Linked DNA regions of Homo sapiens: region 1 is linked to region 2. Evidence: promoter capture Hi-C in 16 types of primary human blood cells and fetal thymus (Javierre and others, 2016). All regions are on one chromosome and are shown on one strand. The core of a region is centred on a gene start or on the middle of the fragment in contact, and the rest is flanking DNA. Distances in the headings are between cores, read along the strand shown. Region 1 overlaps RPL14 (ribosomal protein L14). Region 2 holds the start of PSMD6-AS1 (PSMD6 antisense RNA 1).

Region 1 (7,280 bases), core at 1,642-4,141, about 24 Mb after region 2:
AAGACCACCTAAATGGCATTACCACTGTCACTTCCTTGGATTACTGCCAAACTTCATACTGCCAACCCGAGCATTCCCAGTCTTGATCCCATAAGATTCAGTCTTAACAGTTCAATGATCTAAATCTGAGATATCACGCCATTTTAAAAAACCCTCAGTAGCTTCCCGTGTTCCCCTACACGATCTAACCACTAACCTACTTCCTTGATGTGGTCCCGAGCCAGTCCTCTACACTATCAGTTCGTTTATTTCCTATCTCGTGTCATTCTTCCCCTTACACCACCTTCTTCTTATTTTAGGTATAGATGCCACTTTCTCTAGACAATTCTCTACCTCCCAGAGTAGAACAGGTAATCCGAAATCATCCATATTTTCCTTATTACACCATACCACTTGCCTATTATCAAGCAAATCAATGTGCTTTTTCCTTTACCCCAGTGACGCCTGAAGCTAGCTTTTGGTTAGGAAACAAATTTATTTAAAATGTATTCCTGGCCAGAAGCGGTGGCTCACGCCTGTAATCCCAGCACTTTGGGAGGCCAAGGCGGACAGATCACCTGAGGTCAGGAGTTCAAGACCAGTCTGGCTGACATGGCAAAACCCCATCTCTAATACAATATTAGAGGGGCATGGTGGTACACGCATTTAACCCCTGCTACTTGGGAGGCTGAGGCAGAACAACTTGAACCTGGGAGGTGGAGGTCGCAGTGAGCTGAGATCGTGCCACTACATTCCAGCCTGGGCAAGAGTAAGGCTCTGTCTCAAAAAAAAAAAAAAAAGTAATCCTGTTTCATGTACAGCTTTGTAGTATTTTTAAATCTATCCAGGATCTTTTACTGCCCCAAATTACCTGTATCTTGTGGTAGAGAGAAACAGAAGTCCAACCTACTATACACAGGATAAGTATCTCTTATCTGAAACACTTAGGACGAGATGTGTTCTGATGTTGGAGTTAAGTGCATATACATGACACTTTGGGGATGGGACCTAGGTCTATACAGGAAATTCATTTATGCTTCATATACATGTACCCTGAAGGTTAACTATTTCTTCCTCAGGGACACTGAATAGTGCTGTGTACCTGTATTTTGACCATAACCCACCATGCGGGTAGGCTAGGGATTTTTAAATTGTAGTGTCATAGCTCAGTTTCAGAGGTTAGAGCTTTTTGGATTAGAAATATGCTCAACCTGCAATTTTTATACTTGCCCTATTTTCCTAGTTTACTTTTTATAAGAAAATTTGCAGGCCGGGCACAGTGGCTCACACCTGTAATTCCAGCACTTTGGGAGGCCAAGGCGGGTGTATCACCTGAGGTCAGGAGCTCGAGACCAGCATGGCCAACATGGTGAAACCCCATCTCCACTAAAAATACAAAAACTAGCCAGACGTGGTGGCACACACCTATAGTCCCAACTACTCAGAAGGCTGAGCAGGAGAACCGCTTGAGCCCAGGAGGCAGAGGTTGCGCTGAGCCAAGATCGTGCCACTGCACTCCAGCCTGGGTGATAAGATCAAGACTCTGTCTCAAAAAAACAAAAAAAGGCCAAGTGCAGTGGCCCATGCCTATAATCCCCCGCTCTGGGAGGCCGAGACAGGCGGATCACGAGGTCAGGAGTTCAAAACCAGCCTGGCCAACATAGTGAAACCCAGTCTCTACAAAAAAAATTAGCTGGGCATGGTGGTGGGCGCCTGTAGTCCCAGCTACCTGGGAAGCCAAGGCAGGAGAATCACTTGAACCCGGAAGGTGGAGGGAGCTGAGATCGCACCACTGCACTCCAGCCTGGGCAACACAGCAAGACTCTGTCTCCAAAAAAAAAAAATAAATAAATAAAATAAATCTGCTAGACTCTTGAGCATCAAGAGGCTGTCACTTTACCTATTTATGGCAAACATATTTGTACAAGGAAAAAAGATGTTCTGAAGCCAAGGTGACCATAAGAAAAAAATGTCACTTGTGTCACTTGGTGTTCTAAGTTATCATGATTTCTCATGACATGATCAATTATGACTGCAATGATTTTGCACTACCTATCCAAGTATGGGCAGAGAGTGAGATTAAAGAACTGATTATTTAGGCCAGGCGCGGCGGCTCATGCCTGCAATCCTAGCACTTTGGGAGGCCGAGGCGGGCGGATCACGAGGTCAGGAGAGCGAGACCATCCTGGCTAACACGGTGAAACCCCGTCTCTACTAAAAATACAAAAAATTAGCCAGGCGCGGTGGCGGGCACCTGTAGTCCCAGCTGCTCAGGAGGCTGAGGCAGGAGAATGGCATGAACCCGGGAGGTGGAACTTACAGTGAGCCGAGATAGCGCCACTGCAGTCCGGCCTGAGCAACAGAACGAGACTCCATCTCAAAAAAAAAAAAAAAAAAAAAGGAACTGATTATTTAATGTTTATTATAATCCTACTATCAATCTGCCTCCTAACTCCAGCCTCAACAGGCTTTAAATCCAAAGGCTTAAATACATTTGTCAACAGGTCAAAAAGAACCTTTATTACTTTTTATGATTGCCACTTATGCTTTCTTGCCAGATGCCTTTGGAGCAGGTGCTTTCTGGGCTGGAGCTTTTTGACCCTTCTGAGCTTTTGGAGCAGGCGCTGCTTTCTGGCCTGTGGCTTTCTGGGCAGGAACCTTCTGGGCTGGAGCCTTTTTACTCGCGGCGGTGATCTTTTTTGCTGGAACTTTAGCAGCAGCAGCAGCAGCAGCAGCAGCAGCAGTACCCTTAGTACCAGGTGCTTTTTTGGGAGAAGCTTTCAGGAGAGCTGCCTTTTGAAGCTTCTTAACTTCATTCTTGATTATTCTGTTCCTCTGAAAATTATCAATGTAAGAAAGCACTTATTGTGTATACATACAATAAAATCCAATTTATGCTGGTTTTAGAAAGGGCATTAAGTAGTCTGTTTCCCTACAACTACATCTGAAGAAAGGTAACAATTCCATAGGGACATCATGAAATACAAATGAAGATAAATTCTCCTTTTTTACAGAAAGCTTCCAAGAAGCTGGCAGCCTGAAATGGGATTTGGCTACTGCTCCCTTATTATTTAAAGCTAAGTTACACAAAAATACAGATCTTAAATCTTACCATTTTCTTTGCCTTCATAACTTTAAAACGATCAAAATCTGTCATCTTGGCTTTCTGTTAAAAAAAAAACAACAAATAAAAATTATCCCTCTCACACTATCTTGAACCCTCCAAAAAAAGAAAGGACCAGAATTCAAATGACCCTAAGTTATTACCCTTTCTCTGGCTTCAATCTTCTTGGCCCATCGTGTGGCTGCCCATTTTGTATTGATGTCTGCCTTCTGCCAGGCTTGTCGGACATACTTCTGGTGGGCACTAGAACGAGCCAAGACCACAGATTAAGAAATCAGCTTTGAAGTCACTCATTATCAAAGACACTTTCTTTGTTCCTTGAAAAGCACTCTTCCTGTTACACAACACCTGGTACACTATGTATTTTACTTATTTTTGTGTTCAGTAAGCCAGAATAGGTTATTAACTTCAAGCATATTTTAATCAAAACTGTAATCCAGTCCCTTTTTTTTTTTGAGAGAGGATCTTGCTTGCCACCCAGGCTGGAATGCAATAGTATGATCATGGCTCACTGTAGCCTCAACCTTCTAGGCTCAAGCCATCCTCCTGCCTCAGCCTCCCAAGTAGCTGGGACTACAGGTGCATACCAGCACACCCAGCTAATTTTTATATTTTTTGTAGAGACAGGGTCTTGCTACGTTGCCCAGGCTGGTCTCCAACTCCTGGGCTCAAGCAACCCTCCACCTTGGCCTCCTGAAGTGCTGGGATTACAGGTATGAGCCACTGCACCCAGCCCAGCCCATTTTATGAATTTAAAAACTACCTCTTGACCAGGCGCAGTGGCTCACACCTGTAATCCCAGCACTTTGGGAGGTCAAGATGGGTGGATCACCTGAGGTCAGGAGTTCAAGACCAGGTTGGCCAACATAGTGAAACCCCATCTCTACTAAAAACACAAAAATTAGCTGGGCGTGGTTGCAGGTGCCTATAATCCCAGCTACTTGGGAGCCTGAGGTTGCAGTGAGTCAAGATTGCGTCACTGCACTCTAGCCTGGGTGACAAAGTGAGACTCCGTGTCAAAAGAAAAAAAAAACCCTCAAAAAAAACACAAAAAACCCACCTCTGACTATATATAATTCCACTCGGGCAGTGGACGTGTTGAAAACCATTCTTTTTTTTTTTCTTTTTTTGAGACAGGGTCTTGCTCTGTAACCCAGGATGGAGAATGCACTGGCGCAACGTTGGCTCACTGTGACCTCTGCTTCCTAGGTTCTAGCAATTCTTCTGTTCCATCCACCCAAATAGCTGGGGCTACAGGAGTACACTACCACACTGGGCTAATTTTTGGACTTTTAGTGGAGACGGGGTTGGCTAGGCTGGTCTCAAATTCCTGACCTCAAGTTATCTACCTGCCTTGGCCTCCCAGAGTGCTGAGATTACAGGTATGAGCCACTGCACACATCCGAGCCATTCATTCTCGTAACAAACAAGGTAATTAATATTAACTGTTAGGCTTTTTTTTAAAAAAAAATTTACAGTAACAATTTGTGGCCAAACATCCTAAAAATAAAATCCAGGGTGTCCAGGGATCCAAGGCAGAATTACAAGAGTACCTAGTGAAAAATCTAAGTTACCAAGTATTTTCTACTGCTTTGAACTTTGACAAGTATCCTCAAGCTTCACCCCTAATTGGTATGTCACAGTAGTAGCAGCATGGCTATGTTCACTCGAGGTTGTTCAAGTGGCATGTTTTCAACTACCAGTACTTCAAAATCCATTATGTGTTAATACACGTCCCACAGTGCCTGTAGTGCTCAGCATACAGTAAGTTTTTTTTTTTTTTTTTTTTTTGAAACGGAGTCTCGCTCTGTCACCCAGGCTGGAGTGCAGTGTTGCGATCTCGGCTCACTGCAAGCTCCGCCTCCCGGGCTCACGCCATTCTCCTGCCTCAGCCTCTGAAGTAGCTGGGACTACAGGTGTCCGCCACCATGCCCGGAATATTTTTTTTTTGTATTTTTAGTAGAGACGGGGTTTCACCGTGTTAGCCAGGACGGTCTCCATCTCCTGACCTCGTGATCCACCCGCCTCGGCCTTCCAAAGTGCTGGGATTATAGGCGTGAGCCACCGCGCCCGGCCAACATACAGCAAGTTTTTGACTATTTTTTAAAGCATGCAAAATTACATGTTCCACTGCAACCATCATTGTGGGTTGAATTAACTGTATAGCAACACACTAAAGTGTTTTAATTTTCATGTCAAAAAAGAACTGCTATTCACTGCCTCACTTAAATGTAAGCTAGGGATAAAACCTCTTATATTAAATACTGTGTAACTGACACACACTGAGAGCTTATCTAATGATAGCTAGTAGCAATAAACACAAGACTTAGTATTGTTGTTTACTTTAAGCTAAAAATTTGGCAGAAACCAGAAGAAAAGAAGATGGCAAATCTAAACAAAGGCAAAGCCCTAAACTACCAGGATAGAAAAGTGACCTCAAGGCATTTATTTTATTTATTTATTTTTGAGACAGGGTCTCACTCTGTCATCCAGGCTGGAGTGCAGTGGCATGATCACGGCTCTCTGCAGCCTCGACCTCGCTAAAACGATCCTCCCAACTCAGCACCCCCAAGGCCCCCCTACCTGGGATTACAGGCGCGTGCCACCATGCCCAACGAATTTTTTTTTTATTTTTTGTAGAGATGGGGGTTTTCGCCATGTTGCCCATGCTGGTCTTGAAACTTGGGCTCAAGAGACCCTCCCACCGTGGCCTCCCAAAGTACTGGGATTACAGGCATGAGCTATCACGCGCAGGCAAGACATTTTAAAAGTAAATAATCCCTGTCTACTTCTATGATGCAAATCCCTCTTCAGGATGGCTCTGAATCTTCCGTATTGTTTACTCCAAAACAAACTTTTACTAGCATAAACAAATCTGGGGATGGGAGGGAGGAGTGATTAGTGGACAGTTACCTGTGCGGAAACTTGAGGATGAAATCAGTGAGCTGCATGCACTTGAAAGGCATGGCCTGTCTCCTCACTTGAGTGCAAGGTCCATCGACCAAAGCCTAGAACACAAACATCAAGAACTTCAGTGCAAAATCTAACAGCAATTAAAATGGTCAGATGGTTCTGTAACATTACTTATCCGTTCAGGGCCATCAAACCCACACTACTATTTTAATAAATTGCTCAGAAAAGACAAGGATTGTCCTATCTGGGTTATATATATGTATGTCTTTTGCTCAACACAAACATTTCTCCACATCATTAAATGCTCCTTCTTAAACTATATAGTACCCCATAGAAACCAACCACATGTAATTTACAGGCAACTTTAGGACTCTGATCCCTGCTGATTTATAGTCAGTGGTCAACTCCTTAGTTTGCTTGTTTCAAATACACAGCAGTAAATACAAAAGTGCTTTCTACGTGCTGGATCTGTTCTAAACTCACTTTACGTATAGTAACTCATTTAAAACTAACCAACGTTTCAGCCTATAACTGGCTCTAGCTTAAGTGGCTAATACTGAAATTCAATACTAATAGCTAACTTCAGGCTGTGCTTAAAACCCGTACCATTACCTGTTTCCTCAATGGTAAAATAAAGCGACTACCCATAGCATCCTCATCTTACACAGCCATCGAGACAATTCATTATTGCCATCTGCAGGGCACATGTCCACTGCCATGTTTAGTAAAAAGTTGTGACACTTACCCTGTTCTGATCAATAACATCTACAATCGCGACCAATTTTCCGGCATGAGGTCCAAAGGAGACATAGGCCACCCGGCCAACCTCCACGAAGCGCCTGAACACCTAAAATTGGAGGAGAAAGGACAGTGAAACTTACTTAGAAATACTCGCTACATATGTCACCTTCTGCAGCTAAAGACAACATGGTTAAATTCAGCGAAAAAGAATGCTGCAGGGAACAAACGCCCGAGAGCCAGGCGCCAACCTGGATGGACGAAATCAGCAAACGCCTCAGTAGCTTAAGCCCGGTTCCCAACGCCCGCCAGCTCCCAGGTCCGCAAGGCCCACACGGCAGGACAAGGCTCTCGGACCACGAGCCGCATCAGCCATCCAGCTCCAGCGGCGGAGGCGCGCACGCGTGGCCCAAGGCGCGCCAGGCCTGCCGGGCCCTCCACGCGCTCGCCAGCGGCGAGTCCGGGAAGGGCGCGAGTCCGGGAAGGGCCCGATTCCGCTGCACAGCCGGCCCGGGGACCCTCACCA
Region 2 (6,742 bases), core at 472-2,971:
AGTAGTGTTGCTTTAGTTTTTAATCTTTTTATCTGAAACGGAGAGTCTATTATAATTTGTCATTTTATTCATTGCAGCGGTTGTGGAACAGGAAATGAAAAAGGACTGGCTTTTTGCCCCTCATTATCGATACTATGTAAGAGAAATGAGAATTCATGCATACAGTCAGCTGCTGGAATCATATAGGTCATTAACCCTTGGCTATATGGCAGAAGCGTTTGGTGTTGGTGTGGAATTCATTGATCAGTAAGTTTGAATAATGCCATGTTAATTGAAGTTTTAAAGTTGCCTTTTAAAATATGTGAACTTGTACAATTTTTTACTTGTTTACATTGGTTCCCTCAATCTTAACGGGGAGGGGAGAGGTTTTTTTCCTCAGTATTATCAAAACATTCGTATCCTGTTGCCTCTGCCTTCCTCATGTCATGTCTGCCCCTTGCATTAACAGATGGGAAGATGAGTTGTAGTGAGGCTAAGTGATTTGTTAAAGGTCATTAGACCAGTTGTTATCAAAAGTTGTCTTCTGTTACTTCTTTGTAGACCACACTGCAGCTACGGTAATGACTCTTAGATCTGATATTTACAGTTGGTCATATTCCCTCTGATAATTCCTTCCAGTTTTTAGGTTGCTGCTGCAATTCTGGTCAGATTGGTTGTTAAATGTGGGACTTTTAGTACTTGCATCAGTGATTAAACAAATAAATACTTAATGAGCCATTCATTACTATATGTTTGGTATTGTTTTACAGCTCCCTTTTCACACTTTCATTGTAGTAGTAGGGAAGAGATGGCAAGGAAGCAAATAAATATAAAACGTAATTTCACATATAGAAATGAACCTATGGAGATGAGAAAATGCTATCCTTACGTACGGCATGCTTAAGGAGGTGAGGTTTGCTCTGAGATTTGAATTGAGAGGAGTCAGCCATATGGAGTCCTTCTGCGTGCAGAAAAGGGAATAGAAAAGGCTAAGGCTTTGAGCCAGGAATAAGCTTGGATGTTGTAGGAACAGAAAATGTCAGGGTGGCTCCAGCATAGTTGGAGTGGTAGGAGATTTTGAGGATAATATATGGAGAGTTAGGTAGGTAATGATTTGTGTAGGGCCTTGTAGGTCATGGGATGGAGCTTGAGTTTTAAGTAAGTTTGATAGGGAGCCATTGGAAGATTTAGAGCCCAAGTTACATGGTCCTATGCAGTGTCTTTATATAAGAAATAGAGTAAGGTGGCAGAGAGGACCAGTTGTGCTGTTTAGTAGCTCTTAGAGGAGATGTTACCGTGGCGTGGACGAGGGTGGTGAGAGTAGAGTTGGGTAGGAGACATACTCAATATGGGATGTCCAGATGGCATCTAGATCAGTGGCTCCCACATGTAGGTGTTTTTAAATGTTGATGATGGTGTTTTCAATGGTCTGCAGTGGAAACTTTAAATGAAGATGCATTTCTTTTAAATAAGACCATTCTCTTTCTAGTATTTTTTAAATTTCGAACATCCATAAAATTGTAAAGAAAGAATTGTACAGTACATTTTAACATATTTGCTTGTTACAATCTATACATTTTATGTTTTTTAACCACTTCAAAGTAAGTTTCAGACACCAACACATTTTTTAAATGATCCCTACCATTTTTTAAATGATCCCTACCAAAATGGAAGGCTGGTATCCCAAGGTTTTGTTCCATTTCTCAATTCTAGTCTGTGAAATTGAAGTCTGATGACCACTCTTAAGAGGGCTGTTCATTAGGGTGCGGGCTGGGCATTATGAGTGTGTTTTTCATGAGTCAGTGGAAGGAGGGGCTTGTTGTGAGCAGTGCATGAGAAAAACGGCTTGGCTTTGCTTCTTTTTCCAGCTCTGTGGCCTTGGTCAGGTTACGTCTCTTCAGTATCGTAACTGTAATGTGGAGATAAAGCCTTCATTAGTTAGGGGCACACACCGCAGTATTCCTTAAGTCATCTTGATGACAAGTGAATGCAAGGCAGCTGGTACCTTTCAGGTAGTAGTTGAATTCAGGTAGTATTTGTTCAGTTTTTTTTTTTTCCCTTCATGTTCTAAGACCAGCTTGAGAGGCAAAGGTTGTACCACTGAGCTCTAGTTGTTGTTACCTAAAAAGGCCTTGTTTTAAATTTCTGTGATACCTAAGAATTTCAAATCTGGGTTGTCATGGATTCTTTATTCTTTTTTTCTCCCTTAAAAAGTTACATTTTAGATGAAATCCCCTTTTTTAAAATGGGCAAAGCAATAATTCTACATCATTTCTCCCCTTCCCTTCCACTTGTTTAGACTAAGATATGTTAGAGAGGGAAAGGGTCGTTGTTTTAGTAAATACTATTGCTGTTGACATGTTAATACTATTGCTGTTGACATGTTTACTGATGGGCTGTGTTCCATAATTTTGTTTTAGGTCTTTTGTTTGAAACAGTTTACTGTTTTTATCAGTTTTGGTCCCTAATTTTTCCTAACCTACAGTTTTTCTCTGAGTACATATGGTTTCATTGTTTGATCTACTTTCTATCTATCTGAATATGAACTTCTAGGATCATGTTTATTCTAGTAGATGATGACTTAAAGCCTGCAGTATAGGAGGGACAACGTCAACTACTGCATGTGCAATAACAAGCTTGAAGGGAAGCTAAATGTTTGTTACAAATTTAAGACAGTATTTTAATGCCGTTTGCATTTTTCTAAGAATTTTCTATAAAGCTAATTCTGTTATTTTTTGTCTCTAAATTAGGGAACTGTCCAGGTTTATTGCTGCCGGGAGACTACACTGCAAAATAGATAAAGTGAATGAAATAGTAGAAACCAACAGGTACTCTCATTTCTCAGAATAAGGGGCATTCCTAAATTTTAAAAGTAGGTCAACTATTGTCATGGAATAATGTGACTGGTAAATAATTCATTTTTTCTTGAATTTATTTATAGACCTGATAGCAAGAACTGGCAGTACCAAGAAACTATCAAGAAAGGAGATCTGCTACTAAACAGAGTTCAAAAACTTTCCAGAGTAATTAATATGTAAAGCCATGTAACTAACAAAGGATTTGCTTTAGAGATAATTATTTGGAATTTTTATAGCTTACTTCACAATGTGCCCAGGTCAGCTGTATAAAATAAATACTGCATTGTTGTTTCTTTCCATTTATTTTTTTCTTAAACACATAGGCCTTCTAGAATCGGGTCCACTTATGTTAAAATAATGTCACTTGAATTATTCATTAATGAAAATCTGGTTTATAGGGTAAGGTTGCAGCTGGGTTCAGCTAGGTTCAGCTCCTGACTGCCTCATCAGTAAAATACGTCAGTAAAATACGGATGTTGACACAGCCCATTATCGCTTACCTTTAAATCTCTTACCTGTAAGCTTCCCGATTTTAGAAAGAAGAGTAGTGGCCTAAAATTAAACAAACAGTGTCTCCCACTTTTAGTATACAAAAGATAGAAGATAAAGAAAATGTGTAATAAGCTTTCCCTCAGAAACAAGTAACCATATAAGGCAGGAAGTTACTCTTTTTTAGGAAGCTGACATAACCTGGATTACAGAATCTACCAAGGCTGATCTCAGTTTTCTAAAACCTTATATGTAAGTATTTATTAGCAAACTGAATCTTTTTTCCAAAAGTAGGACCATAGTAATAATAGCAGTGAGGAAAACAAAGTTGTTCCTCTGTTTGTTTGAAACAGTTTATTAGTTTTATCAGTTTTATTCAGTGTGTCAGATAGGAATAAGTGCTATAAGAAGTATAAAACCAGATAGACAGACAGATAGATAGATAGATAGATAGAGATACAGGGTATAGGCCGTCTTCTGAGGTGTTGTGGAAGGCTTCTATGGTAAGGTGACATTTAAGTGAAAAGGAGGGAGAGCCCATGAACGTATGGAGGGAAGAAAGACGAGGAAAGTCACTGGCAATTTTAAGTGCGGATTTGGCTTACCTTTTACGTCTCACTTACGGCATTCGGTGGCATGGATTGTACAGGCAGCTGGATTTGCTAAAAGATTGAAGAATGGGGTGAGGAGGATGAGGGGGAGAAAATTTGTCAGAGGAGATCCTAGGCTTTTTGGCTTAAGTGAAAGACAGCTAGTGACCTTAATGAGCAGTTTTGGTAGAGGTGAGTTCAGAAGAGAATGGGAAATGGCATTTTACTGTAAAAGGCAAGGGAAGGAAAGAAGAGTTTTGAGTTTTTTTGCTTTAAATAACATTTACTGATGGGAATGATTCCTGTTAACATATTAGGAATAACATATTCCTAATATGGAATTCCTAACAGGAATAACATACTCCTGTTAACATGATCTCATTTGATTGAAAATAATTTGATATAATTCAACATTTCTTCATGATAAAAAAACTCTTCAGTAGACTATGAATAATAGGTTGGGATATCAAAGCCCTATCACAAGGTAATTAATGGCAAAATATTAGAAGCATTATCTTAAAAGTGAAGACAGCAGCTCTCATCGCTGGAAGAAGAGCCATTGGTTGTATGCCAAGGAAAGCAATGTGGCTAGATCTCTGTTTTGAAAGGAGTTTCCTGTAGGCACTGTATTGTGGAGGGGAGGCTTTTAAAATGCTGACTATGCCTAATGTATTTGAGAATATCCACCTATGAATTTCTAAAAATGCTTATCTAGAAAACATTTCTTAAAGGAAAAAAACCTCAGCTTTTTGGTTTTCTACAGAAAACCAAAGCTAGTCAGGAATGCAAAGGTGGCTTCTGAATGCTACAGAGTTGCAGTTGTTCACCCACAGGCGGCAATTGACACACCCTAAATACTTTTCCAAGAAAAAAATTTATAGTTACCACGTAAAAGTTGACAGTTTAAAAACCACATATCTAGCTTCTCTGGAAAAAGGACAGGTGAAGCTAAATCTGGACTCACGCTCCAATAAGCTGAGCGACAAGCATAGCGTGTTTTCCAGTGTGCCCCAGTCCACCCAGTCTGTTCATATACACTGCCTGTCTGCCTGGCCCCTGCTGGCATTTGAGCTTGTTATCCCTGCACTACCCCCAATATTGTGCATGTGAGGTTGATGGTTAACAGCCTCCTGTGTTAATCAACTAAGACAGGGGTGTCCCATCTTTTGGCTTCCCTGGGCCACACTGGAAGAATTGTCTTGGGTGACACAAAATACGCTAAGGATAGCTGATGAGCTCAAAACAAAACAGCTCATAATGTTTTAAGAAAACTTACAAATGTGTGTTGGGCCACATTCAAAGCTGTTGTGGGCTCTGGGTTGGACAAGCTTGAGCTAGGAGAAACTATCCAAAGAATTCCTAACCTTTATCCTGTCTCTAGTAGCTTTAACTGGTACAGCTTGTTTTCTGAAAGTCTTAATTTTCTGCTTTTATTCAAGAAGGTTACTTCACAATATGAAAATAAGATTATGAAATGATGCTAAAACAGTTATACATAGTTCCTTTTTCATGTTGGTAAATGTTTTCTTTTGAAGTGGGAAACAATCTTATTTTTAACCCTGGTTTCAGTCAAAAGTAACTATCCTAGTGTGAAATGATATCGCCAGGATAAACTATCTTTTGTGATTATTTTTAAAGCAGAAATGCCAGTTTCTCTTACCTCAGTAAAAGTTGATTTTATAGCAAATCTATCGAGTAAGAGCTAAATATTTTAAAGCTATGTCAAATTATGGTAATCTATTTCCTGTATTAGAAATAACAGCTTTAGGTCAATTTTTAAGCTATTAAAAAACAGTGTCTCTTAGGACAGAAACAGTGTAAAAACCACTTTTGTTAAGCACCCAACTTTTACCTGCCCCAGATGGCTAGAAGGATGCCTACAACTTGATCACTAAGCATGCAATACTCAATACACTTAGGATTTTGTGACTGAACACATTTGGTCTTTTATAACCTGACCAAACATTAACTGATAAAAGGCTACTAAATCATTAGCAAATCATTTCTGTAATTTCATATTCTGAATTAGTCCTTGGTGCTGCTGTTAACCTAATGTTTTTAAGATGAACAGCTGACAGCTGAAATATCTGCCCCCATGATTATGGGGGAAAAAGCGTGGAGGGAACTATGATAATCCCTGACCTTCCCAATGCTACATAAACTTGTAGTTGCTGGTAACAAACCTGTGCCTCCACAATGGCAATGGGGGAGTGGGGTAAAATCCCCATCTGGATAACATGAAAAGCTCTGATAATCACTAGTTTTGGTTTCAAAGCTGTAGAGCCACAGATTTGCATTATGCTTGTGTTTCTGAAGGAATACAAAGGCTATCAGGAATTTGTAGCAATCTGATCCAGGCCATTTTAACCTTGACATACATGGTCAAAGGGTATAACCTTTTTTTTTTTTTTTTTTTTTTCCCCATTTAAAAATATCTTACAGTGGCATAACTTTCCCTGTACAAATTGGGTTTAAGAAACAAAAGGGACAATTTGCTAATCAATGATGAGCCTTTAATCCAACCATTATATATCCCCTTTCCATCCTTAGATCCCTTGAAGAGACCATTTAGTTAAGACTACCAACAGGTGACACCCTGACCTCCTTACCAACCTTGCCTTTTAGAGGTGACCAGAGACCTGTGCTTTTCCAAAGTACTGTTATACGTGTAATTAGTATAATATCAATGTGGGGAAACTCTACCTTTGGATTTTGAGGACTCTGCTTTTCTTGAAACCCTCTGGGTTAGAGACTGTTTATTCATATGCACCTCAGGAACTTGAGGCCAAGATGAAGTTCACTGTTTCCTAGTCCTTTGCTTGTTCT

The links. The method cuts DNA at HindIII sites, captures the fragments that hold promoters and counts their contacts. A CHiCAGO score of 5 or more calls a contact.
Region 1: a contact is called between a fragment that was not itself captured here and the fragment with the promoter of PSMD6-AS1 in region 2, in 1 of 17 cell types (total CD4 T cells). The highest score is 6.9, in total CD4 T cells.

Annotation. Positions count from the first base shown.
Region 1 is chr3:40,457,473-40,464,752 of GRCh38, reverse strand. RPL14 (ribosomal protein L14) reads right to left here. Exons shown (of 6, transcript NM_001034996.3): 1 at 7,279-7,280; 2 at 6,762-6,863; 3 at 6,017-6,111; 4 at 3,247-3,346; 5 at 3,092-3,145; 6 at 1-2,814. The coding sequence ends at 2,521. Among named protein-coding and RNA genes, the nearest start is that of RPL14, 3.8 kb to the right of the region's middle. RefSeq lists silencers at 5,621-5,915, 7,129-7,178. The HindIII fragment of the contact is 216 bases long and covers 2,784-2,999 here.
Region 2 is chr3:64,006,943-64,013,684 of GRCh38, reverse strand. PSMD6-AS1 (PSMD6 antisense RNA 1) reads right to left here and starts at 1,721. Exons shown (of 2, transcript NR_189168.1): 1 at 1,643-1,721. It overlaps PSMD6 (proteasome 26S subunit, non-ATPase 6), which reads left to right. Exons shown (of 8, transcript NM_014814.3): 6 at 78-246; 7 at 2,730-2,807; 8 at 2,921-3,134. The coding sequence ends at 3,017. It overlaps PSMD6-AS2 (PSMD6 antisense RNA 2), which reads right to left. Exons shown (of 3, transcript NR_038286.1): 2 at 3,932-3,988; 3 at 1,442-1,888. The HindIII fragment of the contact is 1,623 bases long and covers 995-2,617 here.